Linked DNA regions of Homo sapiens: all the other regions are linked to region 4. Evidence: promoter capture Hi-C in 16 types of primary human blood cells and fetal thymus (Javierre and others, 2016). All regions are on one chromosome and are shown on one strand. The core of a region is centred on a gene start or on the middle of the fragment in contact, and the rest is flanking DNA. Distances in the headings are between cores, read along the strand shown. Region 1 overlaps GPCPD1 (glycerophosphocholine phosphodiesterase 1). Region 2 has its middle 63 kb from the start of SHLD1. Region 3 has its middle 58 kb from the start of GPCPD1. Region 4 holds the start of TRMT6 (tRNA methyltransferase 6 non-catalytic subunit). Region 5 has its middle 25 kb from the start of GPCPD1.

Region 1 (2,700 bases), core at 57-2,556, 370 kb after region 4:
GACTCTGTCTCAAAAAAAGAAAAAATTGATATAATGGAAATGATTGTCTGCTACATAAGAATGCCATAAAGAGAAAATATTTTTTGGAAGTATTCTTCAGTGTTCTAAATTTTATTGTGTCTTGAAAATGAAAAATTTTCCACACAGGAAAAAATTTTTGAATATTATATGTGTTTAATAATATATATATTTTTTCTTTTGAGAGAGGGTCTGGCCGTGTCACCCAGGTTGGAGTACAGTGGTGCAATCTCGGCTCACTGCAACCTCCACCTCTCACGCTCAAGTGATCCTCCCACCTCAGCCTCCCGAGTAGCTGGGACTACAGGCATGTGACACATGCCTGAATAATTTTTATATTTTTTGCAGATGGGGTTTCACCATGTTGCCTAGGCTGGTCTCAGACTTCTGAGCTCAAGCAATCCTCCCGCGTCAGCTTCCCAAAGTTCTGGGATTACAGGCGTGAGCCACTGGCCCAGCCCTAGATTTATTTATTTTTTTTTAATGAAAGAATCAACAACCTTAGTAGGCATAATGGTCATTTATCCCATTTTAATACTTTGCAAAAATATGTGTAGATAATAACATCAGTATTTTATAAAACACACCTAATTCCTTAACCTGTAGTATGTGTAATCTTTGCATAATACATTATTTTTGTTATTCGAAGATTTAGCATATTTGGGGGCACTTTAAAATGTAGAATTTAGGCAACATTTGTATGAGTTTTTCTTTTCTGCCACTTCTTGCATCTCATTATTTTGTTTATTACGTAGGGTGAAGCTGACACTAGAAGGCCTGGAGGAAGATGACGATGATAGGGTATCTCCCACTGTACTCCACAAAATGTCCAATAGCTTGGAGATATCCTTAATAAGCGACAATGAGTTCAAGTGCAGGCATTCACAGCCGGAGTGTGGTTATGGCTTGCAGCCTGATCGTTGGACAGAGTACAGCATACAGACGATGGAACCAGATAACCTGGAACTAATCTTTGATTTTTTCGAAGTGAGTAGTTACTGCAGTGAGGGGATTGAGAAAGAATGCAGGGACAAGCTTATTTTAACGTTGGTTTTGATTTTCATTTTAATCTAATTTGTGTAAAGCTAACTTTTTAGAGGTATGCTCTTCTGTACAGTTAAGCTTAAAAAACTTAGAGTTGTCATCTTCAAGTACTATTAAGAATATAATTAAGAGAACAGCAGTATTGATGTTTCCAATCAAGACCAGATGTCTTTGATGCCTGTATGCTAAATAATCTAAATGTAAATGAATTGTATCCAAAGGAAACATCAGTGGTAAATAGAGACCAGGGCAGGCTTTGTACCTCTTGGCGGGCATCCCGATGTAACAAGCGTGATTGAGTTCTCACTATGATGGAAGCCTGTCATTTATTGAGGTACTTTATTAGGATTTGTTGATGGGACTGACTTGCAACTTGATATTGTAAATATGTAATGAAATTATAAAGCTTGTGCCAGGTTATTGACAATCTGTGCTGCTAACTTTCTGGAGCTACATGTGATACTTACACTAGTGCTTGTAGACCACTGGCTGTTCATATTTCCCCAACACATAATACTTGGTACATCCCCTAAGGTCCTTACTGCTGTGGGCCTGGCTCGGTAGTGGTATGTAGTGGTTTCCTTACCCTCTAGCTCCACCTCCACACCCATTTATACTAGATTAGAGTTTAAATCTTGGAGGGTAGGGAATATGTCTTGACCACCAGTAGCCCCCAGCCAGTTTCTTGAGAACAACAGAATTCAGAATGGATTTAAAAAAATCTAATCCAGTAAGCAGTAAGATCTGTGGGACTCTATTATAAAAGTATGAAATTTTGATGACTTCTTTCTTTCTTTTTCTTTCCTTTCTTCTTTTCCTTTTTTTTTTTTTTCTGGAGAGAGGGTCTTGCTCTGTTGCGCAGTCTGGAGTATAGTGACATGATCAGGGCTCACTGCAGCCTCAATCTCCTGGGTGCAAGTGATCCTCATGCCTCAGCCTCTCAAGTAGCTGGGACTACAGGTGTGTACCACCACACCCAGCTAATTTAAAAAAAACGTTTTTGGCCGGGCGCGGTGGCTCATGCTTGTAATCCCAGCACTTTGGGAGGCCAAAGCAGGCGGATCACGAGGTCAAGAGTAAGAATACAAAAATTAGCCAGGCGTGTTGGCGCGTGACTGTAATCCCAGCTACTCGAGAGGCTGAGGCAGGAGAATTGCTTGAACCTGGGAGGCGGAGGTTGCAGTGAGCCAAGATCACACCACTGCACTCCAGCCTGAGTGACAGAGCAAGACTCCATCTCAGAAAAAAAAAAAAAAACAAAAAAAAAAACAACTTTTTTTTTGTTGTTGAGATGGGGTCTTTGTTGCCCAGGCTGGTCTTGAACTCCTGGGCTCAAGCGATCCTCCTGCCTCGGCCCCTCAAAGTGCTGAGATTGCAGGTGTGAGCCTCTGCTCCTGGCCTGAACATTTTCTTGTTGCTTCCTTTTAATAAACCTACCTTTTAATAAATTATATCTTGAATGTCCTACCTTCCCTTTACTTTGTTTAACATTTTTTGTAATAGTGTTTTGTTCATAGACTAGGCTGATAAAATATCCAGTGTAATCTCAAAGTGAGTATAGTATTTGGTTTCCTAGAGAGTTCCTATCCCATGTGACACTTGTGTAGAAACATTTTTAGAGAATATGTTAAAAATTCA
Region 2 (2,700 bases), core at 12-2,511, 260 kb after region 4:
CGGGAAAGGCGGCTGGAGTGTTGAACATACCACCCCCCATCAGTCAGGCAGCAAGGGCTGCTTCCGGTGTGGGGCCAAGTCCTGGACACTCTGGCCTGCCACGTTGGGGGTAAAGTGGGCTCTGGCAGCAAGAGGAAGCCCTTGAGCAGCTGGCTTCCTCTTGTGAGGAAATAAGGGCCCCTACTTCCAAGGGGCCATGAGTAGGGCCCCGCCCGATGGAGAGGTCAGAGTGAGGGGACATGGTGGGCAAGAAGAGCACCTGCTACAGGTCTAACAGGGAGCAGCCTAAACTGGACCTAGGGGGCATGGAGATCCCTAACAGCCAAAGCCATAAAGTTGCACTGCTGGTCACAGTGCTCCAATCTTCATTCAAGTGAATGGATTACCTCCAGGAAATTAGTTATGAGAGGCAACACATTAATTCATGGCGCCAAGTACCATCTATGTCAGTCAGGATTCTTTGGTTGCAAGTGACGAAACCCAATTCCAATCAGACCCAATTCCAAGCAGACACAAAGGGAAAGAGGAAGGGCGCAACACTTCCTTGCATGAGCAGGAAGGGGAAGGTGCAAACTGTCTGTAATTCATCACATGGAGTGGGCACGAATTTTGCAATTTGTCTACCCAAAGGGAGTGCCTTTTTAAAATTTTTGCCCTAAACCATCTTCATGTTAGCAGCAGCTCAGTTATTCTCAGGAGAAGGATACCAGGCACACAGAATGACAAGTGTCCTCCTCAAAACTGTGACAGATAAAGTAGCTGCCACCCAGCAGAAAATAAGCCCACGACGGAATGGTAACTGTTGTGGGCTAAACTGCGTCCCTCAAGCAGATATGTTAAGGTCCCAACCCCTGGGACCTGTGAATGTGATCTTATTTGGAAATAGGGTCCCTGCAGATGCAATCAGGTTAAGATGAGGTCATACTGGATTAAATGGGCCCTAATCCAATATGACTGGTGTCTTTGTAAGAGGGGAAGAGGCCAGGTGCAGTGGCTCATGCCTGTAATTCCAGCACTTTGGGAGGCCAAGGTGGGTGGATCACTTGAGCTCAGGAGTTCAAGACCAGCCTGGGCAACATGGTGAAACCCCATCTCTACCAAGAATACAAAAATTAGCCAGGTGTGGTGGCATGCACCCGTAGTCCCAGCTACTCAGGAGGCTGAGGTGGGAGGATCGCTTGAGCCCAGGAGGCAGAGGTTGCAGTGAGCCAAGTTCACGCCACTGTACTACTCCAGCCTGGGTGACAGAGTAAGACCCTGTCTCAAAAAAAAAAAAAAAAAAAAAAGAGAGAGAGAGAGAAGTAACACAAGACACAGACACAAAAGGAAACACAGACACTCAAAGAGAGTGCCCTGTTGTGATGACAGGAATAGAGATTGGAGCAATACACGCAAGAACCCAGGAATGCCCAGAAGCTAAGAAAAAGGCATGGAATAGATTCTCCCCCTAGAACATTCAGAGCACACGGTCCTGCCTACACCTTGACTTCTGGTCTCCAGAACTGTCAGAGAAGCCACTCAGATTGTGACACTTTGTTATGGCAGCCCTGGGAAACTGATGCAGATGCTAACTTGACACTGGAGATCTAGAGGCAAGGAGGATGAAGTCCTGGACAGGACAAAGATCTGCCGTGGGCTCAGCATGAGGACACGGGGCAGCTAGGGTGTAAAGGGAGCCTGTGCTGAACTGGAAGGTGAGGTGAGTGCGCACCCATATGCCTCCCACCTGCGCTGCTGCCCATGGCCAAGTCTTTCTATGTGAGGAGTGACTTCCTACCCAAGCAAAGGTGACTAAGAGGAACAAAACATCCCCAACGTTTCCTTTAGATGGTTGCAGATCTTCTCTTCGAAGCCGTTACCTGAAGGTAAAGTGAAGGGGGGCAATGCTCTGTGGGAGGTCATTCCTTCAAATCTAGACGTTTTCTCATTTTCTTCGACTTCTGGGTTGAGTCTTCTTCTGCCACTCTGGCTGTAGCAATTTGACACTTAGCTAACCCTTGTTGAATGCTCCCTATGTGTTAAGCAATGTTTGTTTCGTTTTGTTGAGAGACAGGTTCTCATTCTGCCACCCAGGCCGGGGTGCAGTGGTGCGATCACGGCTCACTGCAGCCTTGACCTCCTGGGCTCAAGTGATCCTCTCACCTTGGCCTTCAGAGTAGCCGGGACTACAGATGTGCATCACCGTGCTCAACTAATTCAATTTCTTATGGAGACAGGATCTCACTAGGTTGCCTAGGCTGGTCTTGAACTCCCAGGCGCAAGTGATCCTCCTGTCTTTGCCTCCCGAAGTGCTGGAATTACAGGTGTGAGCCACGGTGCCAGGCCAAAGTCTTAAGTCTGCACTGTCTCATGCAATAGCTATAGCCACATGTGGCAATGTACATGTAAATTTAAATTAATTAAAATTAGATAAAATTAATCATTTAGCCTGGGCACGGTGGCTAACACCTGTAATCCCAGCACTTTGGGAGGCCGAGGTGGGCGGATCACCTGTGGTCAGGAATTTCGAGACCAGCCTGGACAACATGGTGAAAACCCTGTCTCTACTAAAAATACAAAAAGTAGCCGGGCCTGGTGGTGGGCATCTGTAATCCCAGCTACTCCGGAGGCTGAGGCAGGAGAATCCCTCGAACCTGGGAGGCGGAGGTTGCAGTGAGCCAAGGTCATGTCACTGCACTCCAGCCTGGGTGACAGAATTAA
Region 3 (2,700 bases), core at 7-2,506, 280 kb after region 4:
TTTTCATTCAATCTAGTGCGTGTGGAAAAAAAGAAAATTCTATTTTCTCTAATTGCATTTTCTACCATGCTCTTTGAATCCCCCTTCCCATCCCTCAGTGATATCTACAATAGATGCTACTGGAGCCTTAACAATACAGCTCTCAAATTCACACCAACTTCTTCTTGTTTTTTTGTTTATTGAGACCGAGTCTCACTCTGTCACTCAGGCTAGAGTGCAGTGGTGTGATCTTGGCTAACTGCAACCCCTGCCCTCCAGCCTGGGTGACAGGGCGAGACTCTGTCTCAAAAAAAAAAGTTAGACTCTTCCTCTCCGAGAGCTGGAAATCTATGTTCCAGGATTCTCCCTGTTCCCCACCTCGCCCAGGTGCCCTTTCCAGCCTAGTTCTCCACCGTTGGCATTCATGAGGAGAAGAGGCTCTGACCTCCTCCTTGACTGCCCTCCTAGGAGGATTCTCTCAGGCTGGGCTCTGCAGCTGGAGGCCCCCATAGAGGCGGTGGGCTCCGCTGAGATGGTGAGTGCCATTCTTTCGGAATGCCACATGACTTCATGTGAGCCCTTTCTACTCCTGAGGTCATCCCTCAGGCAAAGGCAGTCAGGTCTCCCCTCAGCCTCTACCAGCCTCTGTACTCTAGCCTTTCTCCGGGGGAAGCTTCTCTTTGCTGGACACCACCTGGGCAGCCCTAGGTATCCACCCACCACTCCACTTTATGCTCCTTCATAAGGAGGCGTGGGACCCTTGATGCACTCTTCCTGCCCTCAGGCAAAGGGAAAGCCCTCATCCTTTCCTTGTGGGGCATGCTTATCCACAACAGGCTGCTTCATCAGGCCTCCCCTTTTCACAGTTTTTCATTCAAGAAGCACTGCCAGCCTCTGGCTTTATGAGCACTCCCAAAGTCCAGGGATATGTGTCAACTCTCCCAAAATCCCTGAATGTGTGAATATTCAAAACTGAGTCCCTGATAGCCTCCCCAAACCTGCTCCTCCTGCAGTCATCCTACCACAGCTAGTGGCAATTTCATCCTTCCAGATGCTCAAAACCCATGGAGTGATCCTCAGCTGGTCTCTCTTCCCCATACCCTATTTCCAATGTGAGAGCAAATCCATCAGCACCACCTTCAAGATACATCCAGAATCCAACCTCTTGTCATCACCTTCACAGCTATCATCTCTCACCTGAATTATTGTAATATCCTCCCAACACATCTCTCTGCTTCCAATCTGCTCGCTGTATCAGTTATCCAATGCCATATCATCCTTACTGAATATCCTTATTGGATATTATGGAGTACATTTCATAAGAAACAGCCACAAAACCTCAGTGGCCTGCAATACTAATGCCTCTGGGGTTAACTGGGGACCAGCTGATGGCTCACGCCCATGTCTGGGGATCAGCTGGTTGAGTTGACTGAGGCTATTCAGCTCTGCTCTGTGTGTTTCTCATCCTCCAGCGGGCTCGCCTGGGCAGGTTCTCGGGACGATGGCAGAAGCACAAGATAGCAAGTGGAAACCTGCAAGGCTCCTTGAAGCCTTGGCTTGGAACTGCTGTGCCATCACTTCTGTCTCATTATATGGGCCAAAGCAAGTCATATGGTCAAGCCCAGAGTCAGAGTAGAAAGTCTTTACCAAGTACATGGCTGAAATAAAGTCAAGTGGTAGGAAAGTGCATGTTGCCTCTTGTTGGGTGGAGCTGCAATGTGACAGCAAAGCATGTAGATGAGGGGAGGGATGAAGACTGGGACTTTCAACACAATCAGCTTCCCACATCCCTGCCCTGTCCAGCCTCCCATATAGCACTTCACTGCTTAAAACTCTCCCAACTATAAAACTCTTGGAAGAAAATTTAGGGAGAAAGCTTCATAACATTGGATTTCACAATAATTTCTTAGATATCATGCCAAAAGTACAGGCAACAAAAGTAAAAATAGATAAATTAGGTTACACCAAAATTTGAAATTTCTGTGCCTCAAAAGACACTATCAAAAGACTGAAGAGGTAGCCTACAGAATGGGAGAAAATATTTGAAATTATATATATAATAAAGGGTTGATATGCAAGCCATATGAAGGATTCCTACAACAAAACAAACAACCCCAGTAAACATGGGCAAATAAACATTTCTCCAAAGAAGACATACGAATGGCCAACAAGCACATGAAAAGACGCTCAACATCACTAATCACCAGGGAAATGCAAATTGAAACCACAGTGAGATACCAGCGCTCCTTTCTGGAGGCTCTATGAGGAGAAGCTGTTTCTTTACTCATTCAGGCTATTGGCAGAATTCAGTCCCTTTCGGCTGTAGAACTGAGGTCCCCTTGCTGGCTGTGAGTGAGGGCTGTTCCCTGCTTCTAGAGGCTGTCCCTTGGCTTATGGCCCCCTTCCTCTAATTCAAAGCCAACAATGGTAGGCAAGTCCCTTTCATGCTTTGAACCTCCCCTAGAGTCAGGATTTTGCCATGGTGCCCAGGCTGGTCCTGAACTCTTGGGCTCAAGCGATCTGCCCATCTCAGCCTCCCAAAGTTTCTTTTCTACTTTTAAGGGCCCATGTAACTACGTTAGACCTGTCCAGACAGTCCAGGATAATTTCCTAACCCAAAAGTCCATAAATTTAATTGCATTTGCAAAGTCCCCTTTACTAGGTAATGTAGCTTGCGCAGGTCTAAAACCAAGGATTAGGGAATTGACATCTTCAGGAGGA
Region 4 (2,700 bases), core at 199-2,698:
CAAAACTGTAAGGAAAATAGTGCTCTTAAAAATGTATTAATAAAAAGGGAAAAATTAATGTATTCTAGGTTCAAGAGTAGCAAACAGGCTTGCAAAGTTGTACAGCTATGATACAAGACCCAAATATTCTGCAGTTAAGTTTCTAATCTCTATCGCTTTTTAAGGTATACCATAATAGTTTAATAACTATTAAATATGGTTTACGTATACTAGACGCTCACAGGTTAAAAATAAGGACAGGTACTGTACCTGTTTACAAGTCCCCATTACAGAAATGAAAATAGGACAGGTAATTAACTCTATGAAAACTTATTTGCAGTATTTGAGACTTCTTATTATAGGGCAGGACAGGATGAACATAATTCTGGCCTGTGAGACACTAGGGATACATCATCATAGCTTCTTACATACAGTCAATCCTGCAGTGTCACATCCATTTTTTGTGCAGTTTTTCTGTAAATCCAAAACTGTTCTTATAAAATACACGTCTACTTAAAAATGATTCATATCCTAAGTATACAAGTAAATAAAGATATACCTGTACGCTGCAGTGCAATTCATTATCAAATACTCTACCCAAATCCTTACTTAAAAGGGGTTTAGTTAATAAAACAAGATAGTAACTAGAAAGTTCACGATTTAACGGCATGACAGGGCTCCAATAATTAGGCATTACACATTATGAAACTGATGCTCAAAGAAATTAAGCAAACCGATCAAGATCAAAGTTGTTTGTCGACAGTACAGAGATAAAACTTTCAGCCTCCCAAGCTGAGGCGCTCCTTCAACAACGCTGCGTGCCATACCCTTCTCAAACGAGACAATATGCTGAGAACAGTAACAAATTCAAAAAAACGTTAAGAAGTAGGACTGGAGAAAGAGTAAAAAGAAACAGTTGGGTACCTGTGCTTCTTCAAATACTACTTTATTTACATCTCCTAAGGCTAAAGTTCTTACTTGCTTGGGACAGAGGTCCCAAAGCTCTCCTAGTTCACAACTGGGCCGGCTCCAGGATACGCGCAGATCTGTCCGGCCGGATTCTCCCTCCCTCCCTCCCGTAGAGAAGCACCACGGGGCTAAGAGTCTCCGGGATCTTAGCTCCTCAGGCGACTCCTGCCAAGTCCGCAGTTCTCTTCAGCCGCAGCTTTCCTGTCGTCCCCGCGCGGTGCTGAACCCCATCTGTCTCAACGGCTCGGGAAACTCAGTTTCCCCACCGCAGCTTCCAGAAGGTGTCTGTAGCGCACAGCGCCGCAAAAATGCCTCAAGCGAAAATCAGGTCTTCCCCTAAATTCTTTTTTGGCGCTTCAGTGATCCAACTTCCGCTCAAAGAAGCGGCAAGACGAGAGGGGCGGGGCGGAGTGCAGCCAATCAAGGAGTTTGGCCAGACGGAAGCCGAGAGGCTTCCGGAAGCGGTCTTGAGGTCTGGGCCGGAAAGCGGAAGCGGCGTGCAACACGTGGGGGCGGTGCCGGTCGGAGGGCTCCTAGTGCGCCAGGTTGTGGGAAGTGAGGCTGGCGGTGGCGACAACCGAGGAGGAGGGGCGGGACGCCGTGGAGCACGGCGACCGGCTGAGCGTCATGGAGGGCTCAGGGGAGCAGCCGGGCCCACAACCACAGCATCCCGGAGACCACCGCATCCGCGACGGCGACTTCGTGGTGCTGAAACGTGAAGATGTGTTTAAAGCAGTACAAGTCCAGCGGAGAAAGTAAGTCAGATCGCTGATTTTAGGGGTCTCCCGCCCCCACCTTGTAGATACCCCCTCCCTCCAGGTTTCTCCACAGAATTCTTCCGCCAGGGTGCCATTCTTGGCTCTCTCGGTCCCCATTCCCCGCCCTCGTTGTCTCCTCGGGTCTTTCTGTCACAGAAGGCTTTTCCACCAGGATCCCGTCTTCGAACCTCATAATCTCCCTTAACCCTCCTGTTTTTCCCGGAGCCCCCTCCATGATTTCATATCTGGCCGTCCACCTTCAGCATCCTTTTCAGTCTTTCCACAGAGTTCCTTCCCCAGAATTCCATTCTTGGCCCTAGGGTGCCAATGCCTCCCTCTCCACACCCTAATCACCTGTCCTGAAGTTCTTTCCCTAGGACCTTGGGATCTTCACTGTCTTTCCAGAGACACCCCCTCCTTTCTTCACTTTAGGATCTCATCCTTGTCTCCAGAGTCTCCTTCAGGTTCCCCCTTTTTTTCCACCATAGATCCTCCTTCTTCCCTAATCCCCCAGTCAGGATCTATCCCACAAAAAATGAAACGTCTCCTACCTAGTCTGGCTTTCTATCCTCTTCTCTACCCAAGCAGGATACACAGAATAGATGAAGGAGACAATTCACCACAGAGTGTGGAATCACTTTGAGTTTCCCTCGTTTTACTCACCAAAGGATTCAACGCTGGGAAAATTGCTAAAAAGCAATTTGCTCAAGGCCTCAGAACTCCAAATTAGGTTTGGTTTGTGCACCTGCTGGCTAGTATCGCTCTGTTTTATAGAAGTAAAGAAGTGGGATTTTGATAACTTTCTGGAAGGGCTGGTGAGGTTGTTAAGTCCTAAGAGCTTATTAATGGTGAAAATTTATTGGGATATTTGGATTAATTTATCTGAGAAATACAACCACAGTGTTTTTGTTTTTGAGACGGAGTCTTGCTTTGTCACCCAGGCTTTAGGGCAGTAGTGCAATCTCGGCTCATTGCAGCCTCTGCCTCCGAGGTT
Region 5 (2,700 bases), core at 136-2,635, 310 kb after region 4:
GCCAGGAATCTAGACAGACAGGCCTTGCTGGGCTCCTCATTCAGTCTATTAACATTAGATCTTGCCCTTTTTTTCCAGTTACCTGGCTGTCCATACTTTGTTGAACCCAAGCATAAAAATCGACATTTTTTCCTGTATCTTTGAGTTTTCATTCTGAAGGCTCCCGTGTATACATGTCAAATAAATTTGTATGCCTTTCTCCAATTAATCTGCCTGTCAGTGGTTTTCAAATCTCCAGGGGGCCGAGGGCCTTGGCCCCTGCAGGAACATCCACATCTTCTTCATTTGTTTGTTTAAGACAGAGTCTTGCTCTGTCACCCAGGCTGGAGCACAGTGGCACTATCACGGCTCAGTGCAGTCTCGATCTCCCAGGCTCCAGCAATTCTCCTGCCTCAACCTCCCATGTAGCTGGGACCACAGGCATGTGCCATCAGGCCTGGCTAATTTTTTGATTTTTGATTGTTGTTGTTGACATGGGGTTTCATTTTGTTGCCCAGCTGGTCTTGAATTCCTGATTTCAAGTAATCCTCTCAACTCAGCCTCCCAAAGTAAAGCCCCACATTATCTTTATTGTTAACATTTTTCTTAGAATGCTGGAGGGTTTTTTTTTGTTTTTTTTTTTGTTTGTTTTTTTCTTGAGATGAGTCTTGCTATGTGGCCCAGGCTGGAATGTAGTGCTGCTATCTCGACTCACTGCAACCTCCGCCTCCTGGGTTCAGCCATTCTTGTGCCTCCGCCTCCGGAATAGCTGAGACTACAGGTGCTCGCCACTGTGCCCAGCCTAGAGTGCTGGAAGCTTTTAAAACCCATGGAGGCCGGGTGCAGTGGGCCTTAGGACCCTCCCCAGGGTCAGTCCTGCCCTATACACTCGAGTGTTACTGGTAAAGGGTCCGGATCCAGACCCCAAGAGGGGGTTGATCTCGGGCAAGAAAGAATTTGAAGCAAGTCCACAGAATAAAGTGAAAGCAGGAACGAAAGAATGGCTACTCCATAGGCAGAGCAGCCCCAAGGTCTGCTGGTCTGCTGGTTGCCTTTTCTGAGGTGGAGTTTTGCTCTTGTTGCCCAGGCTAGAGTGCAATGGCGTGATCTCGGCTTACCGCAACCTCCGCCTCGCGGTTTCAAGCAATTCTCCTGCCTCAGCCTCCCGAGTAGCTGGGATTACAGGCATGTGCCACCACACCCAGCTAATTCTGTATTTTTAGTAGAGACGGGTTTCTCCATATTGATCAGGCTGGTCTCGAACTCCTGACCTCAGGTGATCCACTTGCCTTGGCCTCCCAAAGTGCTGGAATTACAGGCATGAGCCACCACGCCTGGCTAGTTGCCCTTTTTTTTTTTTTTTTTTTTTTTTTTTTTTTTTTTTTAGAGACAGAGTCTGGCTCTGTTGCCCAGGCTGGAGTGCAGTGCTGCAATCTTGGCTCACTGCAAGCTCCACCTCTGCTGACCTCGTGATCCACCCGCCTCGGCCTCCCAAAGTGCTGGGATCACAGGCACGATCCACCGCGCCCAGCCCTGGTTGCCCATTTTTATGGTTATTTCTTGAATATATGCTAAACAAAAGCATATATGCTAAACATGTATATGAATATATGCTAAACAAAAGCATGAATGTGGTTCTTCATTCCTCCCCTTCTTAGGCCATATAGGGTTACTTCCTGATGTTGCCATGGCATTTGTAAACTGTCGTGGCACTGATGGGAGTGTAGCAGTGAGGATGACCAGAGGTCACTCTCATTGCCATCTTGGTTTTGGTGAGTTTAAGCTGGCTTCTTTACGACAAACTGTTTTATCAGAAAGGTCTTTATGACCTGTATCTTGTGCTGATCTCCCATCTCATCCCGTGACTTAGAATGCCTAACCATCTGGGAATGCAGCCCAGTAGGTGTCAGCCTTTTTTACCCAGCTCATATTCAAGATGGAGTTGCTCTGGTTCAAATGCCTCTGACAGAAGGAATGCTGAGGCCATGAAGCTTTCATAGAAACACAGAGGATTGGTTTGGAGAGCTTCGGGATGGCTGAACGTGTGGAGATTTCTAGAGGGTGGTGCACCCAGGGAGGGCATGGAAGCTCCGCACCCCTTTCTTCATATCTGTGCATCCCTTCATCTGTATCCTTTATAATAATAAACTGGTAAACATCGCTGTTTCCCTGGGTCCTGTGAGCCTCTCTAGCAAATTAAAGGAACCCAAATTGGGGGTCGTGGAGACTTCAACTTGTTGTTGGTAGGTCCGAAATTCCAGTGGCAGAGACTTGCAACTGATGTCTTCTGCAAGGGAGGCAGTGTTGGGGACTGAGACCTCAACCCATGGGATCTGATGCTATCTCCAAGTAGATAATGTCAGAATGAAATTGTAGGGCCCCCACCTGGTGTCGGCTGCTTGGTGTATGGGGAAAAACTCCCACATATTTGGCCACAGAAGTGTTCTTCTGTGTTGACGATCGTTGTGGTGGTGTGAGCACAGTGGAAAAGCACAGTTTGGGAGAGTTTTTCCTGAAACACACCCTTACAGAGGAGTAGCCATTTCCAAGCAACAAAAAAATTGCTGTGAGCTCCATAGTCAATGCAAGGGAAGCCTTTAGGAACACTCAGCCTGGTAAAAAACAAATATGACAGGAGATATCTGGGGGAAAAGAAGCAGAGGTGGGATCCAGGAGAGATCTCCTACTCAGCAAAGTTTGCAGGTGTTCTGCAGGCAGAAC

The links. Contacts are between HindIII fragments. The CHiCAGO score rates a contact against its expected background, and 5 or more counts as called.
Region 1: a fragment that was not itself captured here is called in contact with the fragment with the promoter of TRMT6 in region 4 in 16 of 17 cell types (naive B cells, naive CD4 T cells, naive CD8 T cells and 13 more); the score reaches 20.1 in naive B cells.
Region 2: a contact is called between a fragment that was not itself captured here and the fragment with the promoter of TRMT6 in region 4, in 3 of 17 cell types (naive CD4 T cells, monocytes and fetal thymus). The highest score is 5.4, in naive CD4 T cells.
Region 3: a fragment that was not itself captured here is called in contact with the fragment with the promoter of TRMT6 in region 4 in 5 of 17 cell types (naive B cells, total B cells, fetal thymus and 2 more); the score reaches 7.3 in naive B cells.
Region 5: a contact is called between a fragment that was not itself captured here and the fragment with the promoter of TRMT6 in region 4, in 1 of 17 cell types (naive CD4 T cells). The highest score is 5.6, in naive CD4 T cells.

What each region holds. Positions count from the first base shown.
Region 1 is chr20:5,576,685-5,579,384 of GRCh38, reverse strand. GPCPD1 (glycerophosphocholine phosphodiesterase 1) reads left to right here. Exons shown (of 20, transcript NM_019593.5): 8 at 774-1,005. Among named protein-coding and RNA genes, the nearest start is that of GPCPD1, 33 kb to the left of the region's middle. The HindIII fragment of the contact is 328 bases long and covers 1,143-1,470 here.
Region 2 is chr20:5,685,919-5,688,618 of GRCh38, reverse strand. No RefSeq gene overlaps it. Among named protein-coding and RNA genes, the nearest start is that of SHLD1, 63 kb to the left of the region's middle. RefSeq lists an enhancer at 15-515. The HindIII fragment of the contact is 3,496 bases long and covers 1-2,700 here.
Region 3 is chr20:5,667,418-5,670,117 of GRCh38, reverse strand. No RefSeq gene overlaps it. Among named protein-coding and RNA genes, the nearest start is that of GPCPD1, 58 kb to the right of the region's middle. The HindIII fragment of the contact is 1,203 bases long and covers 655-1,857 here.
Region 4 is chr20:5,949,281-5,951,980 of GRCh38, reverse strand. It overlaps TRMT6 (tRNA methyltransferase 6 non-catalytic subunit), which reads left to right and starts at 1,448. Exons shown (of 11, transcript NM_015939.5): 1 at 1,448-1,703. The coding sequence starts at 1,576. It overlaps MCM8 (minichromosome maintenance 8 homologous recombination repair factor), which reads right to left and starts at 1,329. Exons shown (of 19, transcript NM_032485.6): 1 at 958-1,329. RefSeq lists an enhancer at 1,313-1,452. The HindIII fragment of the contact is 3,685 bases long and covers 1-2,700 here.
Region 5 is chr20:5,634,330-5,637,029 of GRCh38, reverse strand. No RefSeq gene overlaps it. Among named protein-coding and RNA genes, the nearest start is that of GPCPD1, 25 kb to the right of the region's middle. The HindIII fragment of the contact is 1,174 bases long and covers 799-1,972 here.